Regions from separate parts of the Homo sapiens genome. Here all the other regions are linked to region 6. Evidence: promoter capture Hi-C in 16 types of primary human blood cells and fetal thymus (Javierre and others, 2016). All regions are on one chromosome and are shown on one strand. The core of a region is centred on a gene start or on the middle of the fragment in contact, and the rest is flanking DNA. Distances in the headings are between cores, read along the strand shown. Region 1 has its middle 8.6 kb from the start of KHDRBS1. Region 2 overlaps KHDRBS1 (KH RNA binding domain containing, signal transduction associated 1). Region 3 overlaps TMEM39B (transmembrane protein 39B). Region 4 has its middle 15 kb from the start of TMEM39B. Region 5 has its middle 27 kb from the start of KHDRBS1. Region 6 holds the start of PEF1 (penta-EF-hand domain containing 1).

Evidence for each region. Contacts are between HindIII fragments. The CHiCAGO score rates a contact against its expected background, and 5 or more counts as called.
Region 1: a fragment that was not itself captured here is called in contact with the fragment with the promoter of PEF1 in region 6 in 3 of 17 cell types (total CD8 T cells, M1 macrophages and fetal thymus); the score reaches 6.0 in total CD8 T cells.
Region 2: a fragment that was not itself captured here is called in contact with the fragment with the promoter of PEF1 in region 6 in 2 of 17 cell types (fetal thymus and neutrophils); the score reaches 6.0 in fetal thymus.
Region 3: a fragment that was not itself captured here is called in contact with the fragment with the promoter of PEF1 in region 6 in 1 of 17 cell types (fetal thymus); the score reaches 5.5 in fetal thymus.
Region 4: a fragment that was not itself captured here is called in contact with the fragment with the promoter of PEF1 in region 6 in 9 of 17 cell types (fetal thymus, naive CD8 T cells, monocytes and 6 more); the score reaches 8.2 in fetal thymus.
Region 5: a contact is called between a fragment that was not itself captured here and the fragment with the promoter of PEF1 in region 6, in 2 of 17 cell types (naive CD4 T cells and M1 macrophages). The highest score is 6.6, in naive CD4 T cells.

The regions. Positions count from the first base shown.
Region 1 is chr1:32,003,257-32,007,201 of GRCh38, reverse strand. No RefSeq gene overlaps it. Among named protein-coding and RNA genes, the nearest start is that of KHDRBS1, 8.6 kb to the left of the region's middle. The HindIII fragment of the contact is 4,207 bases long and covers 1-3,715 here.
Region 2 is chr1:32,035,163-32,039,320 of GRCh38, reverse strand. KHDRBS1 (KH RNA binding domain containing, signal transduction associated 1) reads right to left here. Exons shown (of 9, transcript NM_006559.3): 5 at 2,278-2,411; 6 at 1,285-1,486; 7 at 702-769. Among named protein-coding and RNA genes, the nearest start is that of KHDRBS1, 23 kb to the right of the region's middle. The HindIII fragment of the contact is 3,062 bases long and covers 1-2,817 here.
Region 3 is chr1:32,075,754-32,079,663 of GRCh38, reverse strand. It overlaps TMEM39B (transmembrane protein 39B), which reads right to left. Exons shown (of 9, transcript NM_018056.4): 3 at 3,842-3,910; 4 at 2,818-2,901; 5 at 2,346-2,500. Among named protein-coding and RNA genes, the nearest start is that of TMEM39B, 4.8 kb to the right of the region's middle. The HindIII fragment of the contact is 448 bases long and covers 1,131-1,578 here.
Region 4 is chr1:32,055,709-32,059,781 of GRCh38, reverse strand. It overlaps a transcript of KHDRBS1 not described here. Among named protein-coding and RNA genes, the nearest start is that of TMEM39B, 15 kb to the left of the region's middle. The HindIII fragment of the contact is 3,085 bases long and covers 1-3,017 here.
Region 5 is chr1:31,984,940-31,988,922 of GRCh38, reverse strand. No RefSeq gene overlaps it. Among named protein-coding and RNA genes, the nearest start is that of KHDRBS1, 27 kb to the left of the region's middle. RefSeq lists an enhancer at 3,501-3,570. The HindIII fragment of the contact is 806 bases long and covers 977-1,782 here.
Region 6 is chr1:31,642,795-31,646,755 of GRCh38, reverse strand. It overlaps PEF1 (penta-EF-hand domain containing 1), which reads left to right and starts at 1,880. Exons shown (of 5, transcript NM_012392.4): 1 at 1,880-1,915. The coding sequence starts at 1,892. PEF1-AS1 (PEF1 and COL16A1 antisense RNA 1) reads right to left here and starts at 2,620. Exons shown (of 6, transcript NR_184313.1): 1 at 2,460-2,620; 2 at 1,910-2,044. RefSeq lists enhancers at 1,411-1,750, 1,991-2,060, 1,380-2,150. The HindIII fragment of the contact is 8,144 bases long and covers 1-3,961 here.

The DNA of each region.
Region 1 (3,945 bases), core at 363-2,862, 360 kb before region 6:
GATGATTAGCATTCACGTGGCTTTGTTTGAATCCACAGACCACTGAGGCTTGTGTGATGTTTGCATTATAATCATCTTTTTTTTTTTTTTCCTGCCTGTCCTGCTAACCAGAAAGTGAGCTGCTTGCCAGGTGCAGTGGGTCACATCTGCAATCCCAGCACTTTGGGAGGCCAAGGCAGGCAGATCACCTGAGGTCAGGAGTTTTTAGACCAGCCTGGCCAACATGGTGAAACCCCATATCTACTAAAAATACAAAAATTAGCCAGGTGTGGTTGTGGGCGCCAGTAATCCCAGCTACTCGGGAGGCTGAGGCAGGAGAATCGCTTGAACCCAAGAGGTGGAGGTTGCAGTGAACCGAGATTGCATCACTGCACTCCAGCCTGGGCGACAGAGCGAGACTTCATCTAAAATAATAATAATAATAATAATAAATAAAAAATAAAAATTACCCAGGCATGGTGGCGGGCACCTGTAATCCCAGCTATTTGGGAGGCTGAGGCAGGAGAATCGCTTGAACCTGGGAGGTGGAGGTTACAGTGAGCCAAGATCGCGTCATTGCACTCCAGCCTGGGCAACAAGAGTGAAACTCCATTTCAAAAATAAATAAATAGATAGGCTGGGCGCAGTGGCTCCCAATCCCAGCACTTTGGGAGGCTGAGGTGGGTGGATCAGCTGAGGTCAGGAGTTCGAGACGAGTCTGGCCAACATGGCAAAACCCCGTCTCTACTAAAACTACAAAAATTAGCCAGGTGTGGTGGCACCTGCCTTTAATCCCAGCTACACGGGATGCTGAGGCAGGAGAATTGCTTGAACCTGGGAGGTGGAGGTTGCAGTGAGCCGAGATCGCACCACTGCACTCCAGCCTGGGTTACAGAGAAAGACTGTCTCAAAATAAATAAATAAATAAACAAACAAACTCCCACTCTGCCCTTTGCCACTGACCTGCTCCTCCTCAGTGTCTGTATCTTAGGGAACAGCACCCCTAACTCACTGCACACCCTGGATATCTGAGACTTGTTCTGACTTCCCTCCTCTGCCTCATCACTCTACCCCCACCACATACAAACCATTCTTAAGTCCTTTGTTGCTTACCTCATAAATACTGAAAATCCCATCCACATTTCTCTGTCTCCCCTGCCTCTGCCTCCAGCTGAAGTGCCATAATGCCTCTCTTGAACTTCTGCCACCTCTGACCTGGTCCCCTACTTCCACTCCTTTTCCCCTTTTCTATTTTCAACCCAGAAGCCAGAATAGTATTTTTCCTATTGCCTTTAGGATAAAGACCTGAGTCCTGTTAACATGTTTGACCTGCCCCTACCTGTATGCCTTTCTTTTCTTTTTTTATAGAGATCGGGTCTCACTGTATTGCCCAGGCTGGAATGCAGTGGCGCCATCATAGCTCACTGCAGCCTCCAACTCCTGGCCTCAAATGATCCTCCTTCCTCAGCCTCCCAAGTAGCTGGGACTACAGGTGCTACTGTGCCCAGCTACACATGGCTTTCTTACCTCATCTCATGCCATTCTCCTCCCTGGTTCCTGTGCTTAGCAACCCTGGCCTTTTTCAGTTCCTCAAATAAGCCAGACTCCTGCTTCCTCTCGACCACACCCATTCTGGTTCCTTAGCTTAAAACTCCAATCACTGTCCCCCTTCCTCCAATCCAGTCCCTTGTCTTTTCTTTCTTTAGCTACTCCTCTTTTCTTTAGCTACTGTAATTCCTATATATTCTTCCGATATAGTCAATTGCCACTTCTTCAGGGAAGGTGTCCAGGCCCCCTAGTGCAGATTGGCTTAGCTCCCTTTGTTACATGCTTTCATGGCTCCTTCCTAAAACAGCACCTTTTAAATTTACCTCTTTGGGGCTGGATGTGGTGGCTCATTCCTGTAATCCCAGCATTTTGGGAGGCCAAGGTGGGTGGATTACTTGAGCTCAGGAGTTCGAGACCAGCCTGGGCAACATGGCGAAACCCTGTCTCTACCAAAAAAAAAAAAAAAAAAAAATTCACTGGGTGTAGTGATGTGAGCCTGTGGTCCCAGCTACTTGGGAGGCTAAGGTGGGAGGATTGCTTGAGCCCAGGAGGTGGAGGTTGCGGTGAGCCGAGCTCATGCCACTGTACTCCATCTTGGGTGACAGAGTGATACCCCATCTCAAAAAAAAAAAAAAAAAAACCACACAAAAATTTACCTCTTTGTGATTATTTGAGTAACCTCCATCTCTGCAACTCAAATGTAAGCTCTATGAGAGCAGGAACTTTGTTTCTGGTGTTTAAGGTTATGTCCCCAGCACAGTGCTGGTCTGGATTGGCTGATCAGTAAATATTTGTTGACTCAATGAATATCAATAGGAACAGCACATGCAAAGACAACAAAACTTTACAAAACTTGGTGTGGGTCCCTGGAATGGCAAGTTGCGGGATATGAGCTAGATTTGGATGAGTGGGGAGGGGCTCATGGAAGATGGCAGGAGATAAGGCCAAAAGGTAGTCTGAGCCGGGCGGGCTGGCTCACGCCTGTAATCCCAGCACTTTGGGAGGCGGAGGCGGGTGGATCACGAGGTCAGGAGATTGAGACCATCCTGGCTAACATGGTGAAACCCCGTCTCTACTAAAAATACAAAAAAAATTAGCCGGGCGCGGTGGCGGGCGCCTGTAGTCCCAGCTACTCAGGAGGCTGAGGCAGGAGAATGGCGTGAACCCGGGAGGCGGAGCTTGCAGTGAGCCAAGATCGCGCCACTGCACTCCAGCCTGGGTGACAGAGCGAGACTCCGTCTCAAAAAAAAAAAAAGGTAGTCTGAGTCTTGATGCTCAGATAAGGAGATAGAGTGCCAGTGGAGAACAGTGAGATAACGTGGTCAGACGCGGAAAGGAGGGAAGAACACCACAGCTCACAGGTTAGATTTAGCCTATCCATATGTTTTAAAATTGGGCCTATCTAGGCCGGGCGCAGTGGCTCACGCCTGTAATCCCAGCACTTTGGTAGGCCGAGGCGGGTAGATCACAAGGTCAGGACCGACCTGGCCAAGATGGTGAAACCCCGTCTCTACTAAAAATACAAAAATTAGCCGGACGTGGTGGCAGGCACCTGTAATCCCAGCTACTTGGGAGGCTGAGGCAGAGAATTGCTTGAACCTGGGAGGTGGAGGTTGCAGTGAGCCAAGATTGTGCCACTGCACTCCAGCCTGGGCAACACAGTGAGACTCCATCTCAAAAAATAAAATAAAATAAAATAAAATAAAATAAAATAAAATAAAATAAAATAAAATTAGGCCTACCTAACTTTAAAAAATTGAATTAGTTGCCAATACTTAAACATTAGGAGATTTCATATTTTTTAAAAAGTTCTGGATTTCTGGTTTTTCTTGAAACATCAGATGTTCTAGGGACGTACAGGAGTTCTGGGCTCATACTCCTCCAAGCAATAACTAGCTTCTGCCTTTAGATGGCACTACCTCTAACTCCCCAGGCGTTTATGCTACCAGCCTGCCTCTTTAAGCGTTTGATTGAGGTAGTGATCCTGTCCTAGATCATTCTGGTCGTGGAATGGGAGAGGAGACTGCAATGGCAGTCAGAGAAGCCCAGGGAGAGAAGGGAGTTCACCCTCAATTTGGAGATATGTAGACCCAAGGGACACTATATTTGGGCTCAGTCAGGCTCAGGCCTGGGGCTGGGGAGGGGGATAATATTCAGAACTTAGGGCCACCCTTTCACATTAGAAGCTTAGTTTGGGCTCAAAGAGAATATAAAAGCAAAGGAATCCACTGTGATGCTGGCTGATCTGAGAGCAACCTTTGGAATTTTAGCAAAATAAATGCCACCTTCTGGGCTCAGGCTCACCTCTGTCCTCTTCATGCCTCAGAGAGATAAAAGATGAGTAAAGCTGTGGACCTCACTGTAGAAGAAACTGGCAGTCTTGAGGGAAAGGAAGGCATTTAAAGAACTAAATAATAG
Region 2 (4,158 bases), core at 37-2,536, 390 kb before region 6:
GCAAAGAAAAATGGATACCACAGAATATAAAGTGAAAAAGCACAATCCTAAATTGACCCTTTTAATATAGCATATATATACATGTATTCATAGGGCTCACCAGAAGGAAAAAAGAACTGTTTTATCACTGCTGTAGAATTCTGGAACTCTTTTTCAATCAATTCACAGGTAAGCTATATATATGGACACACAAGGAAATGGTCTTAAAGAGAAATGCAGAAAAGAACCTAAGTTATGGTAATGGAATTCAAGTTTCTTGTAAAATTTTATGGAGCTTTAATGTGGTTTTGATATTTTAAAATAATAAATCAAAATAACATAAAGGCATTTCTCCTTGTTTCCATGTAGTCACAGCTTGGAAATTTTTCATTTGTTACTCTCAGGTTCTAAATTATAATTTAAGGTTCACAGTTATCCAGATTTACAAATCCAAGTGTGTGCTTCACAGATGTCAAACGCAGAGGAAAGCATTGCATGGTGGCACGCACCTGTAACCCCAGCTACTAGAGAGAGCTAAAGTGGGAGGACTGCTTGAGCTCAAGAGTTCAAGACCAGTCAGGACTGTGGGGGTTGCAGAGGAGATACCCTCAAAAGGCGAACCATTCTGCTCCTTAGGGTTGTACTGTCTAAATCTCTCTGTTCCTCCAACTCCCTCCATCCATCCTCAGGACAAAAAACAGTGCTTATACTGCCTGACTCACCCTTGACTCTGGCTGTAATAGCCTTCGTAGCCTTCGTAACTTTGTTCTGCGTATGTATCATCATATCCCTAGAACAACAACAACAAAAAAATGAAATAAAAGATCAAAATCATAGAGAGTAGGAAAGGTAATTACATCCCATGGGAGTAAGTAGGCTTCTGAATTAAAAGGACATGACATTTCCCTCCAAAATGTTAATGCCTACTGTAGAATAGTCAAAAGAGAAAGGGTTACTAAACAAAGAAAACCCAAACAAATATGATATGCCACAGAAGAAGTGTGGGCAGGAAGTAAAGTACAAAATCGAGCTTTAGTATTATCAGTACTAGTAGTAAGAAATTCATTATAAAATACTACATTAAAGTACATTTTATTTCTTGTTTAATCTACAGGCGTATAGTAAAACCCTGCCTAAAATGGAAAAATCTTCTAATAGTTCAACATTCACTGCAAGAGAAGAGGGCAGATTGCAAATCTTACAGGCAGTCCATGACACCTACATAAAGGACCGAGGCCCTGTCATTCAACTTCCTTTAGCAGCCTTCTAGGTACTGGGAAATGGCACATTGTTCAAATTTCTTACATATTCTTCATATGTTTCTGGTGCAGGAGGTGGAGGCAAAGGTATCCTCTGGATGCCCGCTGTCCGTGCTCTTGGTGCTGGAGCACCCCTCACAGTAGGTGGGGGTGGCACGCCTCGAGTCACAGTGGCACCTCTGGTGATGGCTCCCCTTACTGGTGTACCACGTACCAAAGCCCCCCGAGGTGGTCCAACACCACGGCCCCTACAAAATGAAAGTTTATCTTAAATGGAGCTTTTTATAAACAGGCCACTTTTATGTTCTGATTTGTTTACAAATTCTGGAATTAGGCAGATTTTATGAAGCCTTAACTAGGCTATTATTAAAGCACAGAGGAATGTACAGGGTAAAGGACCCACACTGCAAGATCCCCCAGGTCCTATAGAGGACCAATTCATCACTGCACTGCCTTGGGTAGGTCTGGAGAGTCTGAATACTCTATAAAGGTCAGTCACAAAAGGTAGAATTTTAAAGTCAGACCATTAACAAATGCTAAGACTGTCCAAAATTAGAAGACCAAAAGTTTCAGCTAGACTGCAGCACTTGGCTATGGTCAAAGTGCCCAAGATCTAGAACTCTATTTTTTTTTTTTTTTGAAATGGAGTCTTGCTCTATCTCCCAGGCTGAAGTGCAGTGGCATGATCTCGGCTCACTGCAACTTCCGTCTCCTGGGTTCAAGCAATTCTCTTGCCCCAGCCTCCTGAGTAGTGTGGTGTATGCCACCACACCTGGATAATTTTTGTATTTTTAGTAGAGACAGGGTTTCACCATGTTGGCCAGGCTGGTCTCAAACTCCAAATGTCAGTTGATCCGCCTGCCTTAGCCTCCTAAAGTGCTGGGATTACAGGTGTGAGAGTATGGTTGTAGAATTCTGTTCTTTATGCAACATACAAATCCTGAGACCCTTCCTAAGCTAGACATAAGAGCACCACTAAAAGAGATGACACTAGTAGTCAAATTCACATCCTATTTCTGGGTGTCTCCATTATTTTTACCTGGGAACAGGTGGTGGAGGAGGTGCAGCTCCCCGGCCTCTCACTGGCACCCCACGTCCACGAGAGGGTTCAGGTACTCCATTCAAGTAGGACAGCTCTAGAAATTGCTCCTGACAGATATCATCCATCATATCCTGGGAACGAAAGATACAAGGAGTATTGTGTGGTATCTACACTTTCTACTGAGAAATCATCTGGTCCACGGGAGACTTGAATTCTAAGAAGAGCTCTTGAGAGCCCAGATGAGGTCTCAGGTCATTCCTTCTCTGAAGTCAAATGGCACCCTATCTGTCACCTCTTTGAGAAAAGTCTTGATGGTAGACCCCTCATTATTCATAATGTGGTCTCTGCCTAGCTCTCCGGATCACTTCCATTCTCTCTCTATATATAACCTACTCACAAGCCAGACTGAACAACTTGTAGTTCAGAGCCTGGCATACTCTTACATATCCATTCTTTGCAAATAGTTTCCTTTTCCTGGAATAATAAAAGCCACTACCATTAATGGAGCTGTATGCACTTGGCTCTATATAATAAGCTTTATATAGATTTTTCAGTTTAATCTTCAAAATGAGGGCCGGGTGCAGTGGCTCACGCCTGTAATCCCAGCACTTTGGGAGGCCGAGGCGGGCAGATCACGAGGTCAGGAGATCGAGACCACCCTGGCTAACACGGTGAAACGCTATCTCTACTAAAAATACAAAAAAATTAGCCGGGCGCGGCAGGCACCTGTAGTCCCAGCTACTCGGAAGGCTGAGGCAGGAGAATGGCGAGAACCCGGGAGGCGGAGCTTGCAGTGAGCCAAGATAGCGCCACTGCAGTCCGGCCTGGGCGAAAGAGAGAGACTCCATCTCAAAAAAAAAAAAAAAAAAAAAAAAAATCTTCAAAATGACCCTGAAATAAGTAGGCAGATCTCCACATTTTACAGTTAAGAAAACAGACTCAAGGAGTATACATCAACCAGCTTAAGAACACAGAGCTAATAAATGGCAGACTCTAGATGTGAATTCAGAATTACCTGTCTCAAAATCTAGGTGTTGGATCAACAGGCTTTTTTGTCCTTATACTGTCTTTTTTGTCCACCTGAGGGATTCTTAATTCATCCTTACAAGACTTGCCTAAATAAGTGTCTCTTGAAAAACTTTCTCTTGATGCCACCCCTACAACTCCTCTTTTCTCAAAGTACCACATAATTCCCTATACCCAAGCACTTACCACATAATTTTAGAATTGTCTGTCACTAAACTGTAAGCTCTTTAGGAGCCATTTTTGTAACTTTACACCCAAGCATAGTATCAGACATCTGACAGATACTTAAGAAATGTTTGGGACGAACAAGAAACCTGAAGCTCAGAAAAGTGAAATGATAACCTGTTCAGGAAGACACAGATAGACAGACATACATAGTCCAGTGCTCTTCCTACGGCACTGTGAAGCATTGCTGGTATAGTTAATTGTTCTAAGTGGAAAATGGAGGGCTCTGGTCACAGATGCAAAAATAGCCTCACTTTTCTTTCCTCCACAAGAGGGAAAAATCAAATGCCACTGGCAAATCTTTTCACACTTCCTATTGAGAGCCATTCAGTCTTAATACTTCATGCATTTTTATATATCCCAGGCGTATACAGCTTCAATAGATGATGCTAGTCTTTGATGCCCCCCTCAACTCTCTAGCTCCTCCTACCTTACACATTACCGCTGCTTGAGACTCACACCTTGGAGAATCAAGTAACCAATGCCAGACCATTGCTCAGACTCCTCCAACTGCCACATCAACACTGAGGAAACCCACATCTCCCCGGCAAGCATCTTTTTCAAAAGATTCACTTACAAGCAAGCCTCATAAACCTAACCCTTCTGAGGAATATGAGGGAGACTAAC
Region 3 (3,910 bases), core at 105-2,604, 430 kb before region 6:
TACTCAGAAGGCTGAGGTGGGAGGATTGCTTGAGCCGAGGAATTCTATGCTATAATGTGCTATGCCGATGAGGTGCCTGCATAGAAGTTCAGCATCCATATGGTGAACTCCTGGGAGTGGGGGACCACATAATTGCCTAAGGAGGGGATGAACTGGTCCAGGTTAGAAATAGAACAGGTTGGCCAGGCGCGGTGGCTCATGCCTGTAATCCCAGCACTTTGGGAGGCCGAGGCGGGCAGATCATGAGGTCAGGAGATTGAGACCATCCTGGCTAACACGGTGAAACCCTGTCTCTACTAAAAATACAAAAAATTAGCTAGGTGTGGTGGCAGGCGCCTGTAGTCCCAGCTACTCAGGAGGCTGAGGCAGGAGAATGGTGTGAACCCGGGAGGTGGAGCTTGCAGTGAGCCAAGATTGTGCCACTGCACTCCAGCCTGGGCGACAGAGCGAGACTCCATCTCAAAAAAAAAAAAAAAAAGAAAGAAATAGAACAGGTTAAAACTCCTGTGTTGATCAGTAGTGGGAACAGACCTGTGAATAGCCACTGCACTCCAGCCTGGGCAATACAGCAAGACCCTCATCTCTAAAATAAAATAAAATAATGAGACAGACCCGTATGTATTGGCATAGAAAAATATCTGTTATATGATTAAGTGAAAAGTGTGGTAAATTGTACATCATGCATAGCATAATACCATTTTTCTTTTTTAAAAAACTGCATGTGGCCAGGCACAGTGGCTCACATCTGTAATCCCAGCACTTTGGGAGGACAAGGTGGGCAGATCACTTGAGGCCAGGAGTTCGAGACCAGCCTGGCCAACATGATGAAACCCCAACTCTACTAAAAATACAAAAAGTAGCCAGGCGTGGTGGTGGGCACCTGTAATCCCAGTTACTTGGGAGGCTGAGGCAGGAAAATTGCTTGAATCCAGGAGGCAGAGGTTGCAGTGAGCCGAGATCGTGCCACTGCACTCCAGCCCGGGTGACATCAGACTGTCTCAAGAACAAACAAACAAAAAAACTGCATGTGTGTGTACTTGCACAGAAAATATTTTGGGAAAATTGCTGCCAGTAATGGATTTCTGGGGGAATAAGACTATGTGGGACTTTCTTTTTCCATGTTAAAAGCTTCTGTAAAGTTTAATGTTTTTATAAGACATTATAATGTTTTTTTTTTTTAAAGACAGGACCTCACTCCAGTTGCTTAAGCTAGAGTACAGTGGCACAATTTCGGCTCACTGCAGCCTCGACCTCCTGAGCTCAGGTGATTCTCCCACCTCAGCTTCCTGAGTAGCTGGGACTATAGGCGTGCCTCACCACACCTGGCTAGTTTTTTATGTTTTTAGTAGACAGGATTTCGCCATGTTGCCTAGGCTGGTCTCAAACCCCTGGACTCAAGCAATCTGCCTGTCTTGGCCTCCAAAGTGCTGGGATTACAGGTTTGTGCTACTGTGCCTGGCCACATGTCACTCTTATAATTAAAAAGTAGATATAACTGAAGGAAGTGTGACAGGGCTCCCATGCCAGTGCCTTTTTGGACATGCAGGGTAGAAAGGGGGAGGTGCCAGCTCTGAAGCTTCCCAGAGACCAGGATTGACCCAGCTTGAGGAATTTTGTGAACCAGAAAACCTGGGGGTTGGGAAACGACTGTTAATGCTCAGGCAGCCAGCAGCCTGCCCCAGAAGCAGCCAGATCCAACACCTCACCAAAGTTCTCCCTGATGCAAGGCGAGAAATGGGCAGTCCTGGGCACATCCCCGAAACAGTCTCTCCATCCTCAACAATCTAGGGTCTGGTGAGACGGAGAAAGAGAGCAAAAACAGGCACAAAGGCATACACACATGCATATGCAGGCACACACACATGCTTCATGCATAGACACCCACACGCTTCATGCATAGACACCCACACAGAGACATGCAACCATGCAGCTGTTTGCTGGCACACAGACTCAGGGAGATACCAAGAGATTACACAAACACTGAGATACACAAAGAGAGACACAGAGAAAGGGAAAGAACCAGAGGGAGGGGAAAGGAAGAGCGAGGGAGACAAAGCCCATACATTCCCTCTTGGGAATGTTCCTTTGGGATATATATGCAGATCTGAGTCCCATTCTGACCTCCCCCATAGTGAGAGCTGGGTAAATTATGCCACCTCAGTTTCGTCTGCAAAAAAAGGCTAATTATCCTGACCTCAGTGAGTGAGTGTCATCTGACAATGTGAGAGGATGTTGCTGCCTGCCTCCGATCTTCCAGATATGGAGGCCTGGTGAGCCAGCTACGGTCAGGGCAGAGGTCAGGGGCCAGGTGCTGGGCAGTGAGGGGTGAAGTGAGGGGTACTCACGGATAGCAGAGGAACAGGAGGTTCAGGAAGGAGTAGGTCCTGAAGAGGTGGATGAGGGATCGGCACAGACTCCAGCCTGTTGCCGTGAGAACGGTGAAGCGAGTGAGGAACAGCAGGATGGAGCGAAAGAGGGAGACCTTCCCCCTCTGAGAGGCCTGGGTCGGGGCAAGATAGGACGGGATGGGGCCTTGGATGGAGGCCGAAGGGGCTGTGCCCAAATCCCACCCAGCATGACCTGTGATCCCACCCAGGGAGAGGTGGCACAGCAGGCTGGGCAGAACCTGGCAAGGTAAATCCTTCTCTTTGATGCCCAGTAAACTCCAAGATGGGATGTAACTAATGTTCTTCAACCAAGTCCAAAGGGAGCCCCAAGGAAATACCCTAAGGCTGAAGGGCTGGGCATGTTTCCTTGGCATCCCCAGGGGAAAAGGGGAATCCCAAAGTCCCTGGCCAGCCTCTAGGACCCAATCACCTCCTTCACGATGGACCCAATGAAGCGGCGGCCCAGAACGATGGTGGTCACCATCAGCAAGTTGAAGTCGATCAGATGGAAGTTCTGTCAGGGGGCAGAGGCCTGGGGGTCATGTGGGCCCCTTGCCCATATGCAGGCTTTTTTCATACCCACCTCCCGCTGCCCATTTCTTTCCACAGAGACTGTCCTCATTCTCTGACCTTCATCGGCCTCCAGCTGAGTCAGGCCAGGAAATTACCTACAGGAGTAGGACAGGACCCCGAGAAGGGAAGTGGGACAGTCCCTGGGGATAAGAGAGTGGTATGTGAGCCCTCTTGCTCTGCTCACACATGCCCCTGTCCCTATACTGTGTCTGCACTGAAGTCTTTCCTCCCCTTGAAGCACTCATGTATCCCTGTGGTTCATCTCCACTACTGGATTAAGACTCTCAGCTCCTGGCCGGGCGCGGTGGCTCACGCCTGTAATCCCAGCACTTTGGGAGGCTGAGGCGAGTGGATCATTTGAGGTCAGGAGTTCGAGACTAGCCTGACCAACATGGTGAAACCCTGTCTCCACTAAAAATACAAAATTAGCCGGACATGGCGGCACACACCTGTAATCCCAGCTACTCGGGAGACTGAGGCAGGAGAATCGCTTGAAACTGGAAGGCGGAGGTTGCAGTGAGCTAAGATTGCGCCATTCCACTCCAGCCTGGGCAACAACAGCGAAACTCCGTCTCAAAAAAAAAAAAAAAAAAAAAAAAAGAAGAAAAGAAAAGAAAAGGACTCTGAGCTCCTTTAGGCAAAATCTTTGTCAGATTCATCTCCCATACACTTACAGTGCCCAATGTGCTACTAAACACACTAGGAGTATTCAGTGAATCATCAGTTTCCTGTTCCTTCAGCACCTTCCATGTTCAGCATGGAGCCAAGTGCACAGTGGTGCTTAGTAGGATATGCTAAACTGAAACCAAAAGAAACACACACACACATACACACACACGCACACACACACACACACACACACACCCTTGTTGGGTACCTACCAGGGAGGTGTGGGAGGGTGGGTGGGAAGGTGGATACCACCACACTGTCTTGTAGATGTTGATGTAGTG
Region 4 (4,073 bases), core at 226-2,725, 410 kb before region 6:
AATCTTTAAAGTCTTTTGAAGAATGGAAATCAGAAAATAGGCATCTTATTATCACTATTATTGGTAACTCAATGTTAGGCTCAAGGGGCGATGGATGTTATGAAGGATTCATCCCAGCACCAAATACTCAGGGTGGACTAGAGGAGACGCATCTTAAATCTGCGGCACAGGGAAGGGGCTTGATCTCATGCTAAAACCTATAGCAATGCTCCTTCTTCTTCTTCTTCTTTTTTTTTTTTTTAAAGAAAGAGTCTTGCTTTGTCACTCAGACTGGAGTACAGTGGCAACATCATGGCTCACTTCAGCCTTGATCTCCTGGGCTAAAGTGATCCTCCAACCTCAGCCTCCATATACGATCACAGACACACACCAACATCCCTGGCTAATTTTTAAATTTTTGTCTCCATATGTTGCTCAGACTGGTCTCAAACTCCTGGGATCCTCTTAATGGCTTGCCAGAGTGCTGGGATTATAGGTGTGAGCCACCATGCCTGGCCAGTGCTTCCGATCTTTTAAATGGCGCTACCATCTCCCTTAGTTGTTCCAGTCAGTAACCTGGAGCCTTAATATGTTCATTCTATCGCCTAAAAGGTTTTGTTTTTTTTTTTTTTTTTTTCTCCTGAGACAGAGTCTCGCTCTGTCACTCAGGCTGGAGTGCAGGGGCATAATCTTAGCTCCAGTACTGCAGCCTCTGCCTTCTGGGTTCCAGTGATTCTCCTCCCTCAGGCTCCCAAGTAGCCGGGATTACAGGCACGCACCACCATGCCCAGCTAATTTTTGTATTTTTAGTAGAGATGGGGTTTCACCATGATGGCCAGGCTGGTCTCAAACTCCTGACCTCAGGTGATCCGCCCACCTCGGTCTCCCAAAGCGCTAGGATTATTACAGGCATGAGCCACTGTGCCTGACAAAAGTTCTTGAATTCATTGACTTCTCTATGTTTGCAATATTACTCTACTATAGACCTTTTTTGTTGTTGTTGAGACAGTCTCACTCTGTTACTCAGGCTGCAGTGCAGTGGCACGATCTCAATTCACTACAACCTCTGCTTCCTTGGCTCAAGCGATCCTCCTGCCTCCACCTCCCGAGCAGCTGGGATTACAGGCATGTGCTACCATGCTCGGCTAGACCTTTCTTATTTCTTGCCTAGACTAGCAAGTTTCTTAACAGGGCCCCATAACCATTCTCCACTCATCAGCAAGTTTAAAAATCAGACATTGAATAATTTCATTTTCCACACCCCCCCTCCTCCCATTCAAGTTGTCTTCAGTGGGATGTTAGGACTGCCATGTGTTAAGGGACTCTCCTCATATTCTATTCCTTTCAACCACCCTGTGAATTGGAAACCAAAACTCTATGATAAACTTTGCTTTTTTAAGGTCAGCCAGGTGCAGTGGCTCACACCTGTAATCGTAGCACTTTGGGATGCCGAGATGGGAGGATTGCTTGAGGCCAGATTGCTTGAGGCCAGAAGTTCTCCATCCTGGGCAACATAGTAATACCTTGTCTCTACAAAAAATAAAAAAATAAGCTGGGTGCAGTGGCCCATGCCTACAGTCCCAGCTACTCTGGAGGCTGAGGTGAGAGGATGTCTTGAGCCCAGGAGGTAGAAGCTGCAGTGAGCTATGATCAATGCAGTGAGACCCCATCTGTTTTTTTTTTTTTGAGACAGTTTCACTCTTATTGCCCAGTCTGGAGTACGGTGGTGCGATCTCGGCTCACTCCTACCTCCGCCTCCTGGGTTCAAGCAATCTTCCTGCCTCAGCCTCCTAAGTAGCTGGGATTACAGGCGCCCGCCACCACACTCAGCTAATTTTTTGTTTTTTTGGTACAGGTGGGGTTTCACCATGTTGGCCAGGCTGGTCTTGAACTCCTGACCTCAGGTGATCTGCCCGCCTCGGCCTCCCAAAGTGCTGGGATTACAGGTGTGAGCCACCGCACCCGGCCCCTGAGACCCCATCTCTCTCTCTCTTTTTTTTTTTTGAGATGGAGTCTCGCTCTGTCGCCCAGGCTGGAGTGCAGTGGCGCGATCTCAGCTCACTGCAAGCTCTGCCTCCCGGGTTCACGCCATTCTCCTGCCTCAGCCTCCCGAGTAGCTGGGACTACAGGCACCCGCCACCATGCCCAGCTAATTTTTTGTATTTTTAGTAGAGACGGGTTTCACTGTGTTAGCCAGGATGGTCTCGAACTCCTGACCTCGTGATCCGCCCGCCTCAGCCTCCCAAAGTGCTGGGGTTACAGGCGTTAAGCCACCACGCCCGGCTGACCTCATCTCTTTAAAAAAAAAAAAAAAAAAGAAAAGAAGAAGGTCCAGCTAGGTGTGGTGGCTAACACCCATAAATCCCAACACTTTGGGAGGTTAACATAGGAGGACCAATTTTGCCTAGGAGTTGGAAACCAGCCTGGGCAACAGATTGAGATCTTGTCTCTACAAAAAATAGAAAAAATTAGCCACCTGCCTATAGTCCCAGTTACTTGGGAGGCTGAGGTGGAGGATCACTTGAGCCTGGATCACTTGAGGGTGTAATGAGCCATCATATTGATAAGTGCTCCAGCTTGGATGACAGAACAAGACCCTGTCTCAAAAATAAAAATAAAAAAGGTCCAGATTCGTACCTCGGCTTCAACTTGCTTCAGTCCTATCCTCTGCCTATAATGTGCTGCTCTATGTCCTTTCCCCAAGCCCTCTGCCTAGCTAAGTCCTCCTTTATATGTTGGCTTAAACATCATTTCCTCAAGGAAAACCACAGTATTAGGTTGTATACCCTCATTGCACCCTGTTCTTTTCTTTGTAGAACTTAACACAATTGAAATTATGTTATTTATGAGATTATCTGTTTAGTATCTGTTTCCACAAATAGACTATAAGCTCCATGAAGCCAAGGACCATTTTATATTGTTCACCGGCCACTGGATCCCCAGTGTCTAGCACATAGTAGGTGTTCTAATGTATAATAGTGAATGTATTTTTAAAAATAATGAAAGGAGACATTTGTACTGATTTCTAGAGAGAAGCTTAGAAAGAATCACATCAGAGCATAAGATATTTCTCTTTCTCAAAGGCAGATGCAGAATTTGTTTGCTACATTCCAACCCCAGAGAGCCTGAGACCTGAGGAGCAACCATCTTATACCTAAAGCTAGGCCATGAATAGGAACCATGAAGGCTGCTGGAGTTAGAAGACCCCTGGGAATAATTAGCTCTGTATCTGAACCCAAACTCTTCTATCTCAAGTTTTCACACACATCACAGTGCCTAGAAGAAAGAGACTGGATACCCTGAGGTGGGCACCAGAGGTTGACAGGGGAACAGCCAATTCAGGCATCTTAATGCAATATTAAGATCAGAAATAGTACCCAAATTTCTGGCAAGGTGCCCTATTTAGCTGATTAATCTGGGCTGATAGACTGGCTGTGCCTCACACTCTATCTAGAAACATCTCAACTAAGCTGTCTTTTTTAAGGAGTCCCTGGACAACCCCCGCCCCCACCCCCAATTTGCCCTGAAAGTGACAAGGCCTCCTTGAAGCAAGAAGCTCCCCAAGGTCTAAGGATGGGGTTAGCTTGTGTACATGAGAACTCCTATCGGCCCATTCCCTGCCTGAGATGCAAAGACAATCACCACAGTACCGGCTAGGAATGAGAGGTACAGTCACTGGTGAGAGGCTAGTGAATCTGTGATCAAGGAATGCTAAGAAGCTAAACCTTAGCAGCACGGCTATGAAATTCACATCCCTTCCAGATACATGTCTCTCTCCTTTTAGAAGAGAGCTGTATACGAAAGCAGAAAGTACATTCGAAACAAACAAAAAAACAGAGAGTGCTACAGTTTGCAGAACACTAGATGAGACTGCATCCTCAGCTTCAGAGCCAGAATAGACAATAGAGTGGAAGACCTCCAGTCCTGGGACTGGAAAATGGATTCTAGAGGTCCGTGAACATTCTTCCCCATTACTTCCCAAAAAGGGTTGAGTCTCCTGCTTGAATGCAGCCTCCTTAGGAGCCGAGAGCAGCAATCAGGCTACAATAGGACTAGGGTGCAGTGCCCCCATAGGCTTGTGCTCCTAAGGGGCC
Region 5 (3,983 bases), core at 130-2,629, 340 kb before region 6:
GAGCGAGACTCTGTCTCAAAATAAATAAATAAATAAAATAAAATAAAATAAAATAAAATAATAATATGGACAGTGACCGTTTAGTGAGCACTTCCTGAGCAACATGCTGCACTAAATAGTTTACATATATTAACTTCATTCTCATGGCAGCCCTTTGAGGTAGGTATTATTAATCTCATTTTGCAGTGAGGAAATTGAAGCTCAGACAGGTTAAGTGACACCATCGAAGTCACATAGCCAGAAAGTTGTTGCAGTGGGCTATGTATGAAGCTATCAGTTTCTATTGCCTCCTCAGAATTTTTATTTTTTAATTTTAGAATGAAATTCTTGCTTGCTCCAGGCTGGAGTGCAGTGGTGTTGTGATCACAGCTCACCGCAGCCTTGACCTCCTTGGCTCAAGCTATCCTCTCACCTCGGCCCCCAAGTAGCTGGGACCACAGGCATGTGCCACCACACCTGGCTAATTTTTTTTTTTGTAAAGGTGGGGTCTTGCTTTGCTACCCAGGCTGGTCTCAAACTCCCGGGCTAAAGCAATTCCCCCGCCTTAGCCTGCCAAAGTGCTGGGATTACAGGTGTGAGCCACTGCGCCTGGCCCTCCCCAGAGTTTTTTTTTTTTTTTTTTTTTGAGACGGGGTCTCACTCTGTCGCCCAGGCTGGAGTGCAGTGGCACGATCTCGGCTCACTGCAAGCTCCGCCTCCCGGGTTCACGCCATTCTCCTGCCTCAGCCTCCTGAGTAGCTGGGACTACAGGCACCCACCAGCACGCCCGGCTAATTTTTTTGTATTTTTAGTAGAGATGGGGTTTCACCATGTTAGCCAGGATAGTCTCGATCTCCTGACCTGGTGATCCACCCGCCTCGGCCTCCCAAAGTGCTGGGATTACAGGCTTGAGCCACCGCGCCCGGCCTTCCCCAGAATTTCTTACAGAAAATTTCTACTCGGGATCCAGTAGGTGACCAGCTAGTGCTCTGAAGCTTTGTATGCCATTAATTGCTTAACGTCAGTATCACATGCGCTCTGGATGATTCTCGGTGGCTCCAATGCTGAGTGTGTGGTGGTTGACTCTACTGCATCAGTATCACTCAAGACTGCTCTATCGAGTTACAATGCCTCCTCTTTGTCAGGGTCCTGGCTTCCCCCAGGGCTTGAGGACAGTATGTGGCTTTTGAACTTGCTTTTCATCGGGGATGGAGAAAGCATGCGAGTTCACCCACTGCCTCAATTGTTAGAAGTGTCTGGGCAGAATCAGGCATATGTGGCTGGCCGATGTCTCTCCCTGGTAGTTCCAGGGGCCAGCCTCGCCTTCCTGTCTGAACTCGGCAGGGACAGGCTGGCTGGGTCGACAGAGGCATCTGCCTGGCAGTTGGGGGCCTGTGAGAATAGCTCTAGTTCTCACCCAGCAGCCTGAGTTGTGGCCTGGGCAAGACCTAGTGAAGGCACACGTTAGTCACAGCAGCCTGGGTGGGGAGGGGGCAGGCATGGGGAGTTCCCTGTGGAGTTCTGGGCAGAAGAGAAGAGCTCAGCTATCACTGTGTGACTGGTAGGGCAGAGTGAGGAGGGGCGTTAGGCCAAGTGCCTCTCTTCCCCTTGGTCGTTAGTCGAGAGCCTCAGGGAAAACGCCAGCCTTCCTGATCTGATCTAATTTCGAGCCCCCCTGCTGTGTGACAGAATGATTCTCTCTGCACATGGTCAGCCGCAGATTTTTCTCAAGGTGAAAGCAATTAGGGCTTCATTCCCTCCTCCCCCAGCTGCTAGAAATAAAAGGAAGATGGAAGAGAAGCTTCTGCCAAGGTCAGCCAGAATGCCCAGTCCTGTTCCTGTAATTGGCTCTGCCACCTGCTCACACCTCTCACAGGTTGTTGTGGTCTCAGGCATTTTGGTGTCCCCCAGGGCTGAGGCAGTGAAGACAGCAGGAGCTACTGCTTTTACATCTCTCTCCAGGACAAGAAAGAGGGCATCTTCACCCTGCCCTGGGTGGGGAATGTGCAGGAACTGTGTGAGCCAGGCCTGGGCGGCACACACAGATGGAGCTGAGCTGTTCTCTCCTTTCTCTGGAAGAATCAAAACCCAGGCAAGAGAAAAGTCATTGGAAGGTGGGAGAACTCATTCATTTGGTCAACTGCTAAACCAAGCACTTTGCTAGGCGTTCCTGGTCCCTGTAGTCTTGGAGCCAAGGGGAACAGAGTGGGTGCAGGAGGTGGAGGGATGGGGAAGTCAACGGGCAGGCAATTCCAAAGGTACCAAATGTCACAAAGGAGGACAGCAGGATACCACGGGAACCTGACCTACGATAGAAATTAGGTTCTTGGCTTTTTTTTTTTCCTTAATTTTTAAATGTATTGTCATAGAGATGAGGTTTCACTGTGTTGCCCAGGCTGGTCTTGAACTCCTGGGCTCAAGCAATCCTCTCTTCTTGGCTTCCCAAAGTACTGGGCTTACAGGTGTGAGTGACCAACCACATCCAGCCTTATTTTATTTTATTTTATTTTATTTTATTTTATTTTATTTTATTTTATTTTATTTTATTTTATTTTATTTTATTAGAGAAAGGGTCTTGCTTTGCTGTCCAGGCTGAAGTGCAGTAGCATGAACAGGGCTCACCGCAGCTTTGACCTCCTGGGCTATAAGTGATCCTCCTGCCTCATCCTCTAGAGTAGTTGGGACTACAGACATGCTCCACCATGCCTGGCTAATTTTTAAATTTTTCAGAGAGACAGGGGTCTCACCCTGTTGCCCAGGCTGGTCTTGGCCTCAAGCAATCCTCCTGCCTTGCCTCCCAAAGTGCTGGAATTTCAGGCGTGAGCCACTGCACCAAGCCTACCCCGTTTTTAAGAGTCTCGGGCTGGGTAAGGTGGCTCATGCCTGTAATCCCAGCACTTTGCAGTGTAGTGGCTAGTCTCTACAAAAAAAAGTTTTTAAAAAATGAGCTGGGCTTGGTGTGGTACACCTGTGTTTCCAGCTACTTGGGAGGCTGAGGCAGGAGGATCACTTACAGCCCAGGAGGTTGAGGCTGCAGTGAGTTGTGTTGGTGCCACTGCACTCCAGCCTGGGTAACAGAGCAAGATCCTGTCTCAAAAACAGATAAAAAAATAAACAAATAGAGATAAAATCTCATGGTAAAATATTTAAAAATAAAGGATAAAAATTGAAATCAGAAGCTCCAAATTACTCCCCACCATCTTCCCTGGTGGTAACAGCTGTTAACAGAGTGTTATGTACTTTTCCGGGGGACTTTCCAAATGTATTCAAGTGTAAGTACATATACAGGGCCGTCCTCTTTAAAAACGGGGTTGTTACTACGCTCCTATCCAGCTGGTGACTTCCCCTGCCTCCACTTCACAATATACCCAGGGCATTTTTTCCATGTTAGTACAGAGAGCTTCACCTCATTCTTTTTGGTGGCTGTGTGGTATAAGGAAGTGATTTTTGAAGGGTAAAACCTGAAGAATAAGTAAGATTAGTAAGGCAAAGGGATGGTTCTCTAAAGCACTGAGCCTGGGAAAACAAAAGCAACATAGATCTCTCTAACTATATCTCCTAATGTCTCCCTTCCTTCTGCGTTTAGACCCCCCGCTCCCTCTGCTGCCACATTTTTCTCTAATTTGCAAAGCAGTTCAGCTGTCTTTGTCTTGCCCTAGCTCTGGAGAGCTTCATTCTTCATGCCAAAGCAACTTATGAAGTATTTTCCCAAACAAAGAACCCTCTACCCAGAGAAAAATTGTGCCACTCCCCTAATAGACAAAAGTAGCTGCAGGCAGTTGTGGTTTAAAATAGCAATTAAGAAAAAAAAAATCTGTTACACCATAAAGCACCTGGCAGTTCATAAATGGTGGTTATTTGTTACTAATATTATTTTACATGTGTTGATGGATGGGTTGGCTGCTGCAAGTTCCTGTCCTTCATCCTGGGGTACCCACCTCTTGCTTGGCCACTTTTCAAGTGTAGGGATGGTTGTCTTACTTGTGTTTGTACCTCTAGCTCTC
Region 6 (3,961 bases), core at 631-3,130:
CTAACTCTGGAGCTAAGGGGAATGTGGGAGGGTTAGGTGGAGAATGGAATTGGAACTGAGCCTTGCAGGACTGGAGTTGGGAGGGCTGCTGGTCCAGGTGAAAGGAGTGGTTTGAACCTAAGTTTGGGGCATGAGCAGGTATAATAAGCTCATTTTCAAATTTACACATTTGTTCCTGTCAGCTAAGAAAAGTGAAATTTAGAGAGGTTAAATAACTTGCCTAAATAAAATGTGGTAGATATACACTGTGGAATACTATGCAGCCATAAAAAAGGAACAAGATCATGTCCTTTGCAGGGACGTGGATGGAATTGGAAGCCATTATCCTCAGCAAACTAACAGAGAAACAGAAAACCAAACACCGCATGTTACCACTTATAAGTGGGAGCTGAATGAGGAGAGCACATACACCACTGGGGTCTGTCGGAGCGTAGAGGGAGGTGGGAAGAGGGAGAGCATCAGGAAGAATAGCTAATGGATGCTGGGCTTAACACTTGGGTGATGGGATGATGTGTGCGACAAACCACCATGGCACACATTTACCTATGTAACAAACCACATCCTGCTCATATACCCCTGATCTTAAAAGTTGGAAATTAAAAACAAACAAACAAAAAACCTGCCTAAGGTGATACAGTTAGAAAGTGATAAAACAAAGATCCTCCCTCCAAAGCAGAAGTGCTGAATGGTGGAACTGAGCACAGAAATACAGAGTAGCAGAAGGGGCCGTAAGATTGGAAAGTTGAGGCTGGGCCAGATTCTGAAGGGCCTGGAGTACCAGAATGAAGAGATTGGGCCTTATTTTGTAGGCGTGGATGAAGAGCATCCATTGTAGGCTGTGTAGTGGGCAAGTGGCATGATCAGCACTGTGATTTTGGAAAGTGCACTTGGTTAGATAGATGGACTAGACTGGATAACAGTTCGTAACATTCATTTATTCATTTATTTTAATAATCGTGTCAGTCGCTATACTAGGTACTGGAGTTATAATGACAAGCAAAAACAGACAAAACCCTAGCCCACATGAAAGAACTTGACAAAGAAATCAAATAAGCACACAAATAAGTGTAGAAACGGAACCACTGAGTGGCAAGTACATGGTGCTGAGATCACTCGGTCACCAGGATTTGACCTACGATGGGGACCGACCTAGACCTCCCTGCTGAGAACTGGACATCCATTGACCCCGGTTCTAGGCGACCCACTGTGAGCTAGGGCAAGGCAACTGCCTCTCTGCACCTCAGTTTCCCCATTTATGAAGAAAGAGGCACTAGATAATTCAATTTTCCTCCAACTCTAATGATCTGGGGTTTTTTTCTCCAAAGACCACAGATCTGTATCCCACTACAAGGGTACTAACTGGTACCCAGTACCTTGACATTAGAGGAGTAATTCCGCCATCGCCTCTCCCTACCGGGAAGAGTCGGTCGGTTCCCCGTTGTCAGGGCAACCGCCTGGCCACCGCCCCTCGTCTCCTTTCCCGCGGCTCATCTGCGGAAACTCAGGAGCTACTCCAGCAATTACGTCACTATCATGCGTCCCATTTGCCAGGTTATAACATGGCTACCGCAGCAACACCCCACCCAGGCTTCTCACTAAATTTCCCAACCTGACCACCTCTTCGGCCCACTCCACCTCAGGAAAAGGAGGAACATTAGCGCTGGTACAGCCGCCAAGACTTCCGGAAGCTCCATCAATCACTTAGCTCCCCTGGTCTCTCGGGTAGGCATCCGCCCACCGCCCCCATCGTCACTTCCGTCGGCCGACAGCACCCAAGATTGACAGGCGCGGACGTCCAATCAGATGCGGGCCCAGCCCCAAAGCCGAGACGAGGGGCGGGTTTGAGAGCGGAAAGCCCCACCCCTTGCCTGAGTGTGACGTCAGAATCACCATGGCCAGCTATCCTTACCGGCAGGTGAGTGTGTGAGGGGCCCGCGAATCCAGGTAGCGGCGGTGCCAGGCGCAGGCCCGACGTCCCCCTGCTCTTTCTCCCCGCTTTCTCCGCGCCCTTCCCACGATGGGTTCGCTTCAGCGAGGCCTTGCGCTGTAGAGAACCGAAAAGGGACCGTCGGTCGCGCCCTGCTCACGTCATGAAGGACCGCACATTCGCGAGGTCGTGTCGCGCCCCCTTGACGTCGCTCACTCGAGGATTTGGGGACCTTGGACCCCACAGGTCCAGGCTGGCGCTGGCCTGGGCTCCACAGCCTCCCAAGGCCCTCATGGGGGCCTTGGGCGGGGGCATCAGCCATGACCGGAGGTTTAGAGTTCTGGTTCCGCCGATCTCATTTGGGGCGTCGGATAAAAATCCAGGCTTCCGGACCCACCCCACACTGCATCAGAGTCATCAGGAAACTCTGGTTGTAGCAGGCGCCACAAGTGAGCTGGTTTGACCACTGACTTAGTTCAACACCGCCATTTCGCGTGTAGAAAAGTGAACCCCGAGAAGACACAGAACTTACCTGAAGTCACCAGGCAGTTAGGCAGCAGGGCCGAGGTCAGAACCCGGGCTATCTTCAGATGCCTCTTCCCCAGCGTATCTTGATTCAGTCAGGAATACCGCAGCAAGGTGATTCTGTGGCCAGAATTCTTTGTTGGGTGATAGTAGGGTGTTGAAGTGCACTTTGGTGTCAGAGGTAGGTTCATATCTTAGCTCTACCACCTAAATAGTTGTGAGCCCTTGAGCAAGCTGTTTTGCCTTTCTGAGTCCAAGTTTCCGCCTGTAAAATAGGGCCGAATAATAGGATCTGCCTCATAAAGCTGTTGTGGAGAGTCAGGAGGTGATGCTTACGAAGCGTTTGGTACATAGTGAGGTGTAACATGTGTTGCCCTTTAGCATTTTGATTTTTAGTAGACTTCTAAAAGGCCAGTGCCCGGAGGGTCCTCAAAATAGAGCCCTCATTTTACAGAGGAGGAAATGAAGCCCACAGAGGGCTGCGATCACACAGTTATTTAGGAGATGAAATCCATAAACGAAATGTGGGAAAACAAGATCAATTGGTATATTACACAGTGCTCAACTGAGTTTAGTCACAGGCCAAAAGATGTAACAGTCCTTCCAGGGAGTGCAGTCTTGTGCGGGTTACACAGTGTTTGGACCTCCATTATCCTAATCATGAAGTCCCTATCGGCATGCAGGTATTATTACCCCTAATTAACTGCTGAGGAGCAAACCCAAAGAGGTTAAGTGGCTTCCCAAAAGTCACACGTAGTAAGTGAGGGTGAGGCCATGACCAGAGCTTAGGACTTCTCTTATTGCATCCTTAGAGAGAGGTAGGAAAGAGAGAGGCCAGTGCGGGCTGGAGTTAGGAAGTGTAGCATAGCAGTTGCTTCCTAAAGTCCATTCCATTTGCTGAGTCTTGGGAGGTTTTAATAGATATTGTTAATATAGGAGGATTCTGTAGTTAACTAAAGTTTTGGAAATACTCTTAAGTATAGCTGAATAAGTTTATTGACCACAAGCTATTTCAGAATCCTTAATTTGCTAATGTACATTGTAAATCATCCAGAAAGGAATATAATATGCAGTATTTCTTAAACATATCTAACCATAGAAACTCCGCCTCCCGGCTTTCTTTTCAGATGTCTGGTCACTTTTTTGACTCTAGTATTTCTGAGGAACACAGGCTGAAAAAACATTCATAGCGCCTTGTTTCCCAGTGGCTGGTCTTCTGCCTCAGAATCAGCTGAGAGCTTGTTTAAGAAAGCACACTTTTGGGTCCCACTTCAGACCTGTTCTGTACCCAGGAATCTACATGCTAATAAGCATTAGGGACAATTGGTGTGCATCCTAAAAGCAGTGACAGGTTAGAGAGAACTGTGCTAGAATTCTAGCTGTATTACTTAATAGTTATATACCCCTGGACAAACTAAGGGCTCTGAGCCTCAGCTTCCTCACCTGTATAAAGGGAGAAATAATACCTGTGAAAAGGGCTAAAATGAGGTTAAAATGCAGGGAGCCTGG